2 separate regions of the Homo sapiens genome follow, and region 2 is linked to region 1. Evidence: promoter capture Hi-C in 16 types of primary human blood cells and fetal thymus (Javierre and others, 2016). All regions are on one chromosome and are shown on one strand. The core of a region is centred on a gene start or on the middle of the fragment in contact, and the rest is flanking DNA. Distances in the headings are between cores, read along the strand shown. Region 1 holds the start of IL2RB-AS1 (IL2RB and C1QTNF6 antisense RNA 1). Region 2 has its middle 11 kb from the start of EIF3D.

Region 1 (6,701 bases), core at 681-3,180:
AACTCCTCTAGCCCTTACTACGCACCAGGCCCTATTCTAAGTACACATGTTGATTCCCGACTATGCTGAAGGCAGTTTCAGGTTCAAGAGCATCAGCATTCCCTGAGAGCTGGTCAGAAATGCAGATGCTCAGGCCCCAGCCCAGCCCTCCCGAGCCAGAATCTGTATTTTCACCACGTCCCCAAGCAACTCGAGTGTGCACAGAAGTTTGAGAGGCCGCATGTTACCTCAGTGAATCCTGACAACAGCACTTGCAGACTAGGACTCTTATCCTATTTTGCAGATGAAAAAACTGAGGCACGGGGAGGTTAAATAACTCGCCCAGGGCCGCACACAGGTAGGTGATAAGTGTCAGAGATGGGATGTGGGCCTGGGCCATCTGGCTCCTAAGCACATGCTCCTAACTACCAGGCTGCCGCCACCTTTGGAAGAAGAGAGCCATGAGAATTTGAGCTATGGCTGGCCGCATCTGTGCCTGCTCTGGCCGTGTGCCTCTGGCCTTCCAGAACCCACTCTGTCCTTCCTAATGTTTCTCTGACCGTGGCCTCTCCAGGGAGAGTCTGAATCATGATTTTCCCAGGCATGGAAGGTAGGAACACCTGCCAGTCAGCATGGAGCGTTTGTCAAGCGTCTGTATTATCCTGGCTCAGGGCTGGGAGTTATAGCAGCCACAAAAGATGCCCAAGACTCCACCCAGCCCTCAAGGAGCCCAGAGTTTAGCTGCAGGGACAGGAAATAGGCATGGGAACGAATGCAATATAATCACAGCTAAAGTTTGTATGAGATGTGCAGATGCTCCTGGGCAGCTGCCTCTTCAGGGCAGGCTTCATGGAGAAGAGGGCTTTTTTTAAAAATTTAATTTAATTTAATTTAATTTAATTTTATTATTGTTTGTGGGGTTGGGGGAGGAGGGGAGAAGAGGGCTTTGAGCCAGGCCTACCCAGGGCAAGTGCCAGAAGGACAGAGGCGGGGAGGACACAGGTGCAGACCGGCCTAAAGCAGACACTTGGAGCTGAAAACATCCTGAATCCAACCGTCCACAACTCCCCTCTACAGCATCTCCTCAAGAGGGCCAGACTCCCCTGAATTCTCCCTACGGCAAGGAAGTCATTCCTCGCCAGGGGAGCGAGATCATGGCCTGTCTGGTGTGCACGTGTGTGTGTCTTTGCCACAGGTGTGTTCTTTCCAGAACTCCTGTGAACAGGTGGGCCTCCTTTGTGCAAACCTGAGCCATGCACATCCAGCTCAGCTGATAGCTGGGCCAGGAGAGGTGACCTCACCGCCCATGCTCAAGGTCTCTCTGTTGCACTGGACAGGGCCCCTCCAGCCTTAGGCCCTTGAAGTCCTGGCTCCTTGGAAATGCCCCTGCTACTGGGGGGACCCTCAACTGCACCAAAGGACCGCAATGGAAAGGGGGCACTCAGCGCCAGAGCCTCCCCGCCCCCCCACCTCCTGCCGAGAGGAAGCCCAAAACTGGCACATCCACACACACAGCCACACGCCCCCTTTGAAGGCACTGCACCGCTGCGTGTGTTGTACACGGAGCCTGCGCTTCCTGGGCCAGAAGTGAAGCTAAGATGCACTCCACGCATTCAACCGTTGAACCCTCATTGCAGCCACCAGAGTTCTGTGCCACCCCTGCTCCGTTCCCGCGGTGGAGGGAGGACGCCTAGGCCTTGGGAGGGATCGGGAGCGCGTAGAGTGACACCCTGGGCTCCACATCCACGACACCTTCTCCCCCATCTGGACTGCCCAACTACTTCATGCCTACCTCGGGACTTTGCATGCAAAAGGCGCTCAATCATCCCTTCAAGAATAATTGAGTTAGAAAACAGCAGGGCACAATGACAGGTGGGCCCAGAAGTTGCCACCAGAGGGCAGTGCGCGCACCTCCCCAGCCTCCTCGAGACTTGTGCTGCAGGAGGGAGGTGAAGTCGCGGCCAGGAGCGTGACCACGCTGGACCGTGTCTGCTGCCTCCCCGGGAGTCGCAAGTGCCCACAGGACAAGCAGGGGAAGCAAACTGGGCCCCTGGCTTCTGGGAAGACAGCATGAGGGCAGACCAAGGAAAGGCAGCCGAGACCAGCAGACCTGCAAGGGATCTCGGAGGCTCTCAGGCCCAGCTGCTTGCTGAATAGGTAATGATGCATCTGGGCCCAGAGAGAGGCAGCTCTCAGCCTTAGGTCACACAGCAGGGCAGGAGTGTGAACTCTGGCCTCCAGCCTCCGAGGTCCCCTCATCCCACCTAACCCCCAGACTCAGAGAAGGACACTCCACCCAAGCAATTTCTCACCTTCCCCTTAATTGGTACAGATCAGAAACGGGAGCACCTCCTTCTCCTGGCCCCCACGTTTAGGGTTCCCAGGACAGCCTCCGACCCACCCTCTGCCCCTCCTGTATCCCTTTCCTCGGCCCTGGGTGACAGCACCCCTGCCCAGACCAGCTCTGACTGCCTCCAAGTGCCAAGCGCTCACAGTCCTCTACCCCCAGCCCCAGCCGGCACCCTCAGTCTCGTCCCACCATCTCTCTGCCTCCTGAGTCCCTCCCTGAGTCCCATGCCCTCTGCCCCAGCGACTGCCCTTGTAAAGTGAAAATCCGACCCCACCCAACATTTCCTGCTGCACTTATGCAGTATCCAGGCCTCCTCGCCATGGAAAGCCCAGGCCTGCGGCCTCTCTGGCTTCTTCTCTCCCTTGCCCCACTGCCCCTGGCTGTCTGGCAGTTCCTGGAAGTCTCCAAGCTCTTCCCTGCCTCGAGCCCCTGCCCACGTTCTCTCTGCCCCAGGCCTCAGCCTGCGGTCACTTTCTCAGGGCAGCTTTCCCAGCACCCCGTGCATCTAAAGTGGATGCTGCCCTGCCCATCACTGGATCAGGTGCTCATATTCCTAATTGACTGGGCATAGGTGGGAGGATTTGCCTGGTGTCTGTCTTCCTGGCTGGACTGCGGTGCCTCAAGGCCACAGGTGAAGTGCATGGAGTCCCACAGCTTCTCTGAGCCTAAAGCTTTGTGTGACAAATGCATTCAAACTGCATTTATTGAAAGATGGGAAGCAAGGGAGGAAGGGAAGGGGTGCGGGAGGGAGGGAGGACAATCTTGGTGTTGGGCTGAGGTGGCGTCTGTCCCCTTTGCATGAGTTCAGTAAGGATTTACTGAGCACCTGCTGGCAGCAGCATGCTGGGCACTGTGGGAATGACAAGGATGTGTGGGATTTGAACTCTAACTCAGAGTACCTTCTCTTGGTATGGAGGTAGGACAAGTATGCAAATGATTATAACTAAGGAAATCGTGTCAATGTGGTGACCCTTGGCCTGAACTTTCAGAACAGTCCTGGTATCACGTGAGAAGAGTAAATACATGTGATTTGATTCTAAACTGGCTAAGACGTTATTAAAGAAAGTAACAAGACAGAAAAAATACTTTTTCAGGCTGTCTGTGCAGTTTTGTCTTTAGAAAATGTGGTCATAATGAGTATGAGAGGCATAGAGCGTGCCCAGTTTGAAACGCCTGCAAATGACAAAACACAAAAACACAAACCCAAAAATAGAACGTGGCTTGGCTGGAGCCATAGGGGAGGCTCCAGAGGATGTGGCATCGGTGCTGTGGGCAGTGGGTCATTGTGCAAAGGCAGTGAGGGCTGGGTCCCCATCCCACCTTGGCCACTTCCTAGCTGTGTGATCTTGGATAAGTTCCTTTACCTCTCTGAGCCTGTTTCTGCATCTGAAACATGCGACTACTCCCCACCTCTTAGGTTCATGGGGATGGCATGAGATTGTGCACACAGAGAAGCCATCACCCACAGTTCCTGGCATGCAGGAGGCACCTGAGGAAGGCTGGGTTCTTCCTCTTCTCTGGGAGGATGGGGATGAGTGTTCCATAGGCCGGAATGGGTCGAGAGAAAGGGCCCAAGACAGAGGGAGCTGCAAGAGCCAAGGCACAGACTAGGTGGCTGAAGGCAGTTGGGGAACAACAATTATCACCAGAGCCTAATATTTCCCCAGCTCCATCTCCTTCCCTCCACGCCCAGTGCCAGAGGGGCACTGCTTATATAGGGGTTCTGCTTACAGAGGGGTTCTTGCTTACAGAGGGGTTCTGTTTACAGAGGGATGCTGTTTACAGAGGGGTTATTGCTTACAGAGGGGTTCTCGCTTACAGAGGGGTCCTTGTTTACAGAGGGATGCTGTTTACAGAGGGGTTCTTGTTTACAGAGGAGTTCTGTTTACAGAAGGGTTCTTGTTTTCAGAGGGGTTCTTGCTTACAGAGGGGTTCTGTTTACAGAAGGATTCTTGTTTTCAGAGGGGTTCTTGCTTACAGATGGATTCTGTTTACAGAGGGGTTCTTGCTTACAGAGAGGGGTTCTTACTTACAGAGGGGTTCTGTTTACAGAGGGGTTCCTGTTTTCAGAGGGGTTCTTGCTTACAGAGGGGTTCTGTTTACAGAGGGGTTCTTGCTTACAGATGGATTCTGTTTACAGAGGGGTTCTTGTTTACACGTTTACAGAGGGGTTCTTGTTTACAGAGGGGTTCTTGCTTACACAGGGGTTCTGTTTACAGAGGGATTCTGTTTACAGAGGGTTCTTGCTTACACAGGGGTTCTGTTTACAGAGGGGTTCATATTTGTTAGCGGGACGCTGCCATGTCATCCTTCACTCTGCATCCAGAGCATCCTTGCACACAACTCTTCAGGGGCTCCCCACTGCCCTCAAGACCCTATCCAAGCATCCTGAGTCTGGCTTCAAGGCTGTCCCTAACTGGGCCCCCTCTTGAAGATCCCCCTTTGCATCCAATCCTCTGGCCACACAGAACGCAGAATCGCTTGCATGCCTCCCCCTCCTCCCAGGGTTTGCCCCCTCCCTGCCCTGCATGTGGCATCCTTCCTTTGCCTTCTTATCCCGCGGACTCATCATCCTTCAGGCCCCGGGTTCACATCCTCCGTGAAGCCTCCCAGGCCTTTACCCTTGCTTTCTGATGGGGTTAGGTACCTGCCAGAGGCCTTCCTTCTCTCCCCAACTAAAGTGGGTGCTCCCCAAGGGCAGGAACTGAATCCCATTCATTCTGCATTTCTTTATGCTGCCTGGTATGTGCCTGGAGCATAGGAGGTGCTTAGTCATTGTGATGTGGATAGAAGGGTGGTTAATGGGTGAATGGAAAATGGACTGATGGATGAACAGAAGAAGGATGAATGGGGGGATCATGGAGGGAATGATGGAGGGAGAGAAGGAATGATGGGGGAGAAGGAAGGAAGGATGGGGGAGAAGGAAGGAAGAATGGATGGATGGATGGATGGATGGATGGATGGATGGATGGATGAAGGGATGAACAGACAGACGGATGGACAGACAGTGGATGTGGATGGACAGAATAATAAGACTCTTTCAGGAAGGCCAGAACACAGCAGAAAGGCCCTGAAGAAAACCAAAGCAGCTGCAGGAAGTTTGGTGTTTGCCAAGGTTGGGGGTGAAATGAGCTACCTGTTTTGCAGAAGAGATGGGGTGTGTTTTAGCAGCTGACATCACAGAAGGTGCAGGTCCCAAGACCTAACAGGAGAGCAGCTGAGAAGAGCAACAGCTCCTCATAGACAGGGATGGACAAGCTAGGCCAGCAGCGGGGGCAGACTCTGCACTGTCCCCGCTGCCCCCAGCCGTGGAGAGATGCGTGTCTGCCACAGGGGAAGCAGCGCCACCCAGGGGCTGGGGTAATGACAGGCGTGGCCTCTTGGGGGTGGACAGTCTAGAACCCAAGCCTCCATCCCTCTCTGTGGAGGCATCATGGGAGTCGACTTGCCCCTTCTGGCCACCTCTCAGTCCCAAGGGTGCCACATTTGGGGTTCTCCACCACGCAGTCACTGCTTGACGTGGCTCATGGCCTCCCAGCCTCACTGCACGGGCCACACACACTTCCCTCAGTTCCTTTCCTCATTGTCTCCGCAAACACACAGATTCCTGCTGCCTTTAAGACTTTACTGCTGATCTCCAAAGAGATGAAGCAATCTCAAAGATAAACATGAAGCAAATCCAAAGAAATCCTGCAAAATTCTGGGAGCGCCTTTCTGTGGTTGGAAGCTGGGCACGTGGTGGGATGATCCTGCCAGCCTGTGGAACTTCCGATATTATGGATGAGGGTGGATTTTACTACCTCCCAAATTCTAGGACTCACGCTCTTTTTTTTGGGTGGGGAGGGGGACAGAGGCTCGCTCTGTTGCCCAGGCTGGAGTGCAGTGGCACAATCTCAGCTCCCTGCAACCTCTGCCTCCCGGGTTCAAGCAATTCTCCTGTCTCAGCCTCCCAAGTAGCTGGGACTACAGGCGCGGCCACCATGCCTGGCTAATTTTTGTGTTTTTAGTAAAGACAGGGTTTCACCATGCTGGCCAGGCTGGTCTCAAACTCCTGACCGCAGGTGATCCACCCACCTCGGCCTCTCAAAGTGCTGGGATTACAGTTGTGAGTCGTCATGCTTGGCCTCACGCTCTTTCATTCAAATAATATTTATTGAGGAGCCCCTATGTGCCAAACCCTTTTTCTAGAGGCTTAGGACACAACAGTGAACAAAACAAAGACGCCTGCCCTTGTGACGCTTACAGTCTAGTGGGGAGTGGGGTGAGAAACAGACAATAAACATAAGGACTAAGTAAGTTTCATAGGAGGTTAAAAGATGAAAAACGCTATCAGAAAAGAAAAAATGGGAGACAGAGAATCAGGAGCACAATT
Region 2 (6,701 bases), core at 2,089-4,588, 630 kb before region 1:
CACGAGTTTCAGGGGCTGCTTGTGCCTTCACTCATTAGGGTTAAAACATGGTCTTAAAGCTGAAGGCCGCCTCTGACCTGACAGCTCCAAGTCCTGCGGACTCCTGCGCCCAGTAATCACCTCCATGGCGAAGCACTGTTCCTGCTCCCGCAGGCGGCTATAGGTCCACAGCAGGCTCTGAAAGTGCTCCCACAGCTGGACACGCTGCCCCAGGTCTGGGGGCCGCAGCCTGAGGGCAGAGCCAGAGAGGGCGGGAGAGACCACGAGAAAGCTGGTCTCTCCCACACCCAACAAAAGGACCAGAGTCCCAGCTCAGTGTTAGAGCCAGGTGAGCCCATGTGACCTGCCCACACAGCTGGGAAAGCGGGTCGGGTTTCTGGCCCAGCTCTAGCTGTGGAGTGGGGTGGGATAGGCACGGAGCCAGAAGGCAGGCAGCTGAGCAAATCACCTCACTCTTCAATCTCTGTCACACAAACACATGTCATATAAACCCAGCTAGAGAGAGCCAGGGTGGTGCTTAAGCTTCTCACACAGAGGCCACTGAACACAGAAAGGTCTGGTCTATCATCAGGGCCCTACACAGGGTTGCAGCCATCTCGGATGCTGGCAAGGTCTGCACTGGCCAATGTGGTTCATGTAACAGGCATCTACCACCTGCAGCATTTGCCACTGAAACCATGACCTATCTGGGCTAAAATGGCTCATGAAACAATGTTTGTGCATTTGAGAAATGCCTCGAGCATGTACAGCTTCCGCTGCAGGTCCCCCTCGCTCTTGGTGTGGTCGCCATTGATGGCAATGAACAGGCATTCTCCAAACAGGTGAAGGACATACAGGGAGTTGCTGTTTTCCATGGAGAAGCAGGTGTAGGTGTCCGAGAGCTTCTCCAGCATCGTCATGGAGGAGATGATGACCGGGGCTAGGAGGGGGCTGAGCTGGTCCTGTAGGGCAGGGAGCTCTTCTTCCTCATTCTCTGACTGCCCGAACTTCAGCTGGAGACTCTCTTCAAACTCCTCATCCGTCCAGTAGAAGAGGGCCTCTGTGCCCTCAATGGCCACCAAGATGCACTTCATCTTGGTAAGGAGCACAGTGGAGCGTCCAGACAGCCAGAGGTTCAGAAAGGGCTGCAGCAGACAGACTCTGTGACTGCCTCATCGGAGAGCAGCACAACATCCCTGGTCCTGCAAATGCGGATCGCGGCGTGCACAGCACCCCGCCTGCGGGACAGAAATGTTTTCTGAACTGAAAAAGGGGGACTACAGGTGCCTGCCAGGCCCTCCATATACATACATCCCCCTATGTCTGTGTCTAGAAGTGAGATACACCGTTATTTCTGTTTTCTGATTGGCCTTTTTAGTTTTTTGAGACAGAGTCTCCCTCTCTTACCCAGGCTGGAGTGCAGTGGCTCGATCTTGGCTCACTGCAACCTCTGCCTCCGGGGTTCAGGCAATTCTCCTGCCTCAGGCTCCGGAGTAGCTGGAATTACAGGCCTGCACCACCACGCCTGGCTAATTTTTGTATTTTTGGTAGAGACGGGGTTTGGCCATGTTGGCTAGGCTGTTCTCGAACTCCTAAACTCATGTTATCCACCCCCCCTCGGCCTCCCAAAGTGCTGGGATTACAGGTGTGAGCCACCGCAACTGGCCCATTGGCCTTTCTTGTTGTACTGTTCTGTCCCTTCCAGGTAAGACAGGTACATTTTCTAGTAGTAAGCTCCTGTGTCTTAAAAAAGAAAATAACATTCATTGAGTGCTTACTTTATGCCAGGCACTGTGCTATGGGCTTTATATAAATAATTTCCTCTCTGAAAAAAACAAAGACAACAAAAAAAATTACTTCTTTGATTCTTTTCTAAAAGTTCCTTGAAATTGCCATGGACCCTCCCATTCGTGCAGGTGGGGAGAAAGAAGCTCAGAGTCGTTGAGTACTTGGCCCAGTGAGTAAATGGTGGAGCCAGGATTTGTGAACAGTTTTGTGGACTCAGAAGCTTCCATCCCTTACAGGGGTGGTGAAGAAGGCCTTTCCGAGAGGCCCGAGAGGCCCCAAGGCAGAACCATCCAGCCAAGCCCACCCCAAATTCCTGTCCCACAGAAACCAAGAGAGATAATAAAAAGACGGTTGCAGGGTTGTCTCGCCCCTCCTCTGTCTCTTGCCTGCTCTCTCTAAGGAATTCAGAGCCTTCCCATCTTGAATACCAGCGGCAGCTCCAGAATTTCCCCGTGGGACAGGCTTACTGAGAGCCGTCTTGTGAAGGGGGTAGCCCTGGACTTGCCTGGGAGCTGTGTCTGTGTAGCAGGTACTCTGCTTTCAGGAGGATGCAGGTTTTGTTGGGGGAGAGTGTTCCAGGGACTGTGAGGGGACTGAGCCTGCTCCTGAAGCCATCTCCTTTTTATTTAATTTTATTTTTTTGAGACAGAGTCTCGCTGTGTTGCCTAGGCTGGAGTGCAGTGGCAAGATCTTGGCTCACTGCAACCTCCATCTCCCGGTTCAAATGATTCTCCTGCCTCAGCCTCCCGAGTAGCTGGGATTACAGGTGCCCGCCACCATGCCTGGCAAATTGTTGTATTTTTAGTAGAGATGAGGTTTCACCATGTTGGTCAGGCTGGTCTTGAACTCCTGACCTCAGGTGATCCACCTGACTTGGCCTTCGAAAGTGCTGGGATTACAGGCATGAGCCACTGCGCCCGAAGCCATCTCTTGGTAAAATACTGCTGAGCATTCAGACAGAACAGAATTAGGAGAAAGAGAAGGAACCAGCATTGATTTCTTCAACACACTGTGCTAGGTACCTCAGGCATTTCGATTATTCTAGGCTGTGAGTGAAGAGTTGTTGCCAGAATCTAAAGTGTGTTCTGAGAACTTGGCCAAATGTAGGGTGACCATATGACTTACCATTCAAATTTGGGACACTTTGGGGGTGACGAAGGGATTACTATCAATAATTATGCCCTGGGATTGTCTCACTTAAACTGGGAGGTATGGTCACCCTAGGCAGAAGGGAAGTAAAATGGTCCTCTGTTACTGATTATCTGTTGCTGTGTAACCAATCACACCAAAATTTAGTGGTTTAAAACAACAACAGTCTTTTTATTATATCTCTTAGTTTCTGTGGGTCAGGAATTGGGAGAGGGCTTGGCTGGGTGGTTCTGACCTGGGGTCTCTCATGCATTATAGTTTGGTGTGGGTGGAGCTTCTGTTTTTCTCTCTCTCCATTTAGCCTCAGGGTCATTCTGTAGTGAGTCCATGTGGGGAGTTCAGAGCAAGTATTCTGGCGAACAAGCTGGAAGCCATGCTGCCTTCTGTGATCTAGCCTCCGAAGTTATACAGCATCTCTCCCATCCCCGTAACTTGTTGGTTCCAAGTGAGTCACAAGCCTGCCTAGAGTCAAGGGCGAGGGAGGACAGAGACTGAATTTCTTGCTGGGTAAGGCACAAAGTTATGGAACAAGTATGTGGAGTGGGAGGTATTGTCGTGGCCATCTTAGGGGTATGAACTCTGCCATGGATGCAGACTGGCCTTTTCTAAGAGTCATCAGTTTGGTTATCTGCAAACATGACTGAAGAGTGTGGGGTACATCAATGCCAGGCAAAGTTTCTGAAGGAGTCTGGCTCAGAGGGGGAGGCCTGGAATACGATCCTAGTTTACCAAGGGGAACCTGGTCAGTTACCTTGCAACTTTGGAGAAAGAGTGAATGGAAGTGTCCCTCAGTAGGGGACATTTAGGAAGGGGATGGTCACAGAGCCAGGGCTGGCATTGTCCAGGGCACAGGTTCTTGGTTGCGCTGGCTCAAGCATCATCCCCATTCCCCGGGTAAGACTGTCCTCCCAAAACAGAGGTGGCTTCAAGCTGCTCTGTGATAAACACTTTTTTTTTTTTTTTTTTTTGAGATGGAGTCTGGCTGTGTCACCCAGGCTGGAGTGCAGTGGTGCAATCTTGGCTCACTGCAACCTCTGCCTCCCAGGTTCAAGTGATTCTTATGCCTCAGCCTCCCTAGTAGCTGGGATTACAGGTGCCTGCCACCATGCCTGGCTAATTTTTGTATTTTTAGTAGAGATGGGGTTTCACCACGTTGGTCAGGCTGGTCTCGAATTCCTGACCTCATGATCCGCCCGCCTCGGCCTCCCAAAGTGCTGGGATTACAGGCGTGAGCCACCGTGCCTGGCCGATAAATGCTTCTTAATGCTGTTGTTTATTCTGACTCCCTGCCACCAAGCAGTGCTGTGACACCGTGGATCCTCATGGAACTTGTGCTGTAGGGAAGCACGTGCTGGTTAGGCTGATGGAAGTGCTCCATTCTGCTGGTGGGGTATTTACTGTGCTCTCCAATAATAAATGGATCTTCTGCTATGCGTCAGCCTTGTAAGTTTGGTCAAAGGGAGTCTGCCACCGCCTTGTGTGCAGAAAGATCCCGGATATCCTGTGGTGGATTCACCTCATTGGGACCGGTCAGTGTGGCCAACCTCTCTTCCAGAGTGGCAACTTGCGTTTCCTTGCTTATCTTTTAAGAAGCACCATAGGAATCATCACCCCATTTTATAGACGAGAACACTGAGGCTCAGAGAGGAGGAATGTCTTGCCCCAGGTGAGCCAGCTGGTCAGGGTGCATTTGGAATGGAAACCCAGGTGTGGCTGAAACCAAAGCTGGCACTCTCCATGCACAATTCCAAAACCCACAAAGCTCTGAAAATCTAAAGCTTTTTCATGAGATTGGGGCAAGCATTTGATGGCAAACCTGATATGAATTGGATGTGAGGTTATTTATAGTCTTTATTTTGTCCCACTTAGCGTGAATATTTATACATTTTGCTGCAGAAAAATTAAAGGGTTTATGGAATATTGCTCCAGAGCTCACTGGCATGTCACCTGATATGCGGTAGATCCACTCGAAAACCTTTCAGGAATCCAAAGAATTCCAAGTTATAAAGCACATTGAGGCCGGATGTGGTGGCTTCAGACCTGTAATCCCAGCACTTTGGGAGCCCAAGGCGGGCAGCTCACCAGAAGTCAGTAGTTTGAGACCAGCCTGGGTGAAACCTCATCTCTACTAAAATACAAAAATTAGCCAGGCGTGGTGGTGGGTCCCTGTAATCCCAGCTACTGGGGGAGGCTGAGGCATGAGAATCGCTTGAACCCAGGAGGTGGAGGTTACAGTGAGCCAAAATCGGGCCACTGCACTCCAGCCTGGCCGACAGAGTGAAACTGTGTCTCAAAATAAATAAAATATAAAATAAAATACATAAATTGATAAAGCACATTGAGCCGCGAGGATTTCAGATAAGAAATTGTGGAGCTGTGCTACCTGTACCAAACTTTTCTGTCTCGGTTAGGCAGAGATCACTACCCCCATTCTGCAGATGAGGAAGACTGAGGGCAAGGAACATGGTGTCCCAGGTAGGACGGCAGCCATTTTATCATCCTGTTGGAGGCTGTGCCAGCAGGAAAGGAAGCTTTGGAGCCACCAGCCCACCCCAGCCTCCCAAGAACCTTGTTGTCTCAGCAAAATTTCAGAACTAGAAAACCTGGAAAGATTAAAGCCCCAAAGAATGCCACAAGTCCCCCAGGAAGAAAGGGAGGCTTTGCTGTGCGTTCCAGTGGTCGACATTCTAAATCATTTTTTATTTCAGCTGCATGTACACTCACCCATCACAGGACCAGTTCTCAGAATAGAGAGGTACCTGTTGAATCATCCACCCTACTTCCTGCCTCGTGTGGGCATGTCTCCAAGTGCTGAGCCATCCGCTTCGCTGCCGTGGCCTGAGATATATCAGGATTTGCAGGCCTGGCGACAGGAGACAAAATAGATTCCCATTTCCTTCAGAACCATTTAGCTAGTTTAGAGAGTGTTTGACTGTTTCAATGGGATGAGCAATAACCAGGCCTCTCCTTGGCTCCTTCTCTCTGCCCCATATGTTTTCTTCTGTTGGAAGCTGGGATTTGGGGTCTTAGGGCCAAAGATAAATACTGATTTTGGCTCGATCTGGCCGCACAGCTGTGGGCTAGTAGGTGCCCCTCTCTGAACCTCAGGCCCCCACTTTCTGCAGCACAGTGTTGTTCTCATCTCTGTTTTTTTTTTTTTTTTTTTTTTTTGAGATGGAGTCTCTCTCTGTTGCCTAGGCTGGAGTGCAGTGGTGCGATTTCAGCTCACCGCAACCTCCATCTCCTGGGTTCAAGCAATTCTCCCCACCTCAGCCTCCCGAGTAGCTGGGATTGCAGGTGCCTGCCACCAGGCCCAGCGGATTTTTGTGTTTTTTAGTAGAGACAGAGTTTCACCATGTTGGCCAGGCTGGTCTCGAACTCCTGACCTCAGGTGATCCGCCCTCCTCAGCCTCCCAAAATGCTGAGATGACAGGCATGAGCCACCGCATCCGGTCTCTCATCTCTTCATACCACATGCCTTGGTTCCCACTGCCCCGGCGGGTGCCTGGAGAGCCTTGTGGCTGGGGCTGAGTGACCGCAAGGTGATATTTAAGGTGGTCTCATGGAGCAGTCTGACATCACTGTAATGCAAGCAGACATCTGGGGAGTCAGACTGACTGAATTTGAATTCCAGCGATTTAAATTTTTACCACTGTTGTGTGACCTTGGGCAAGTTGTGTGACCATTTGAGCCATAGCTTCTTCATCTGTAAAATAGATGGAATCATAGCATGTACCACTTCGGGAGGGAGGGAGAATAGAATTAGGTCAGATTTTATATGTGAC

What was found. Contacts are between HindIII fragments. The CHiCAGO score rates a contact against its expected background, and 5 or more counts as called.
Region 2: a contact is called between a fragment that was not itself captured here and the fragment with the promoter of IL2RB-AS1 in region 1, in 1 of 17 cell types (megakaryocytes). The highest score is 5.5, in megakaryocytes.

Annotation. Positions count from the first base shown.
Region 1 is chr22:37,164,829-37,171,529 of GRCh38, forward strand. It overlaps IL2RB-AS1 (IL2RB and C1QTNF6 antisense RNA 1), which reads left to right and starts at 1,931. Exons shown (of 2, transcript NR_199008.1): 1 at 1,931-2,136. It also overlaps a transcript of IL2RB not described here. RefSeq lists enhancers at 2,102-2,151, 3,466-3,525. The HindIII fragment of the contact is 5,870 bases long and covers 1-2,998 here.
Region 2 is chr22:36,536,532-36,543,232 of GRCh38, forward strand. It overlaps the pseudogene LOC100500719. Among named protein-coding and RNA genes, the nearest start is that of EIF3D, 11 kb to the left of the region's middle. The HindIII fragment of the contact is 2,707 bases long and covers 1,986-4,692 here.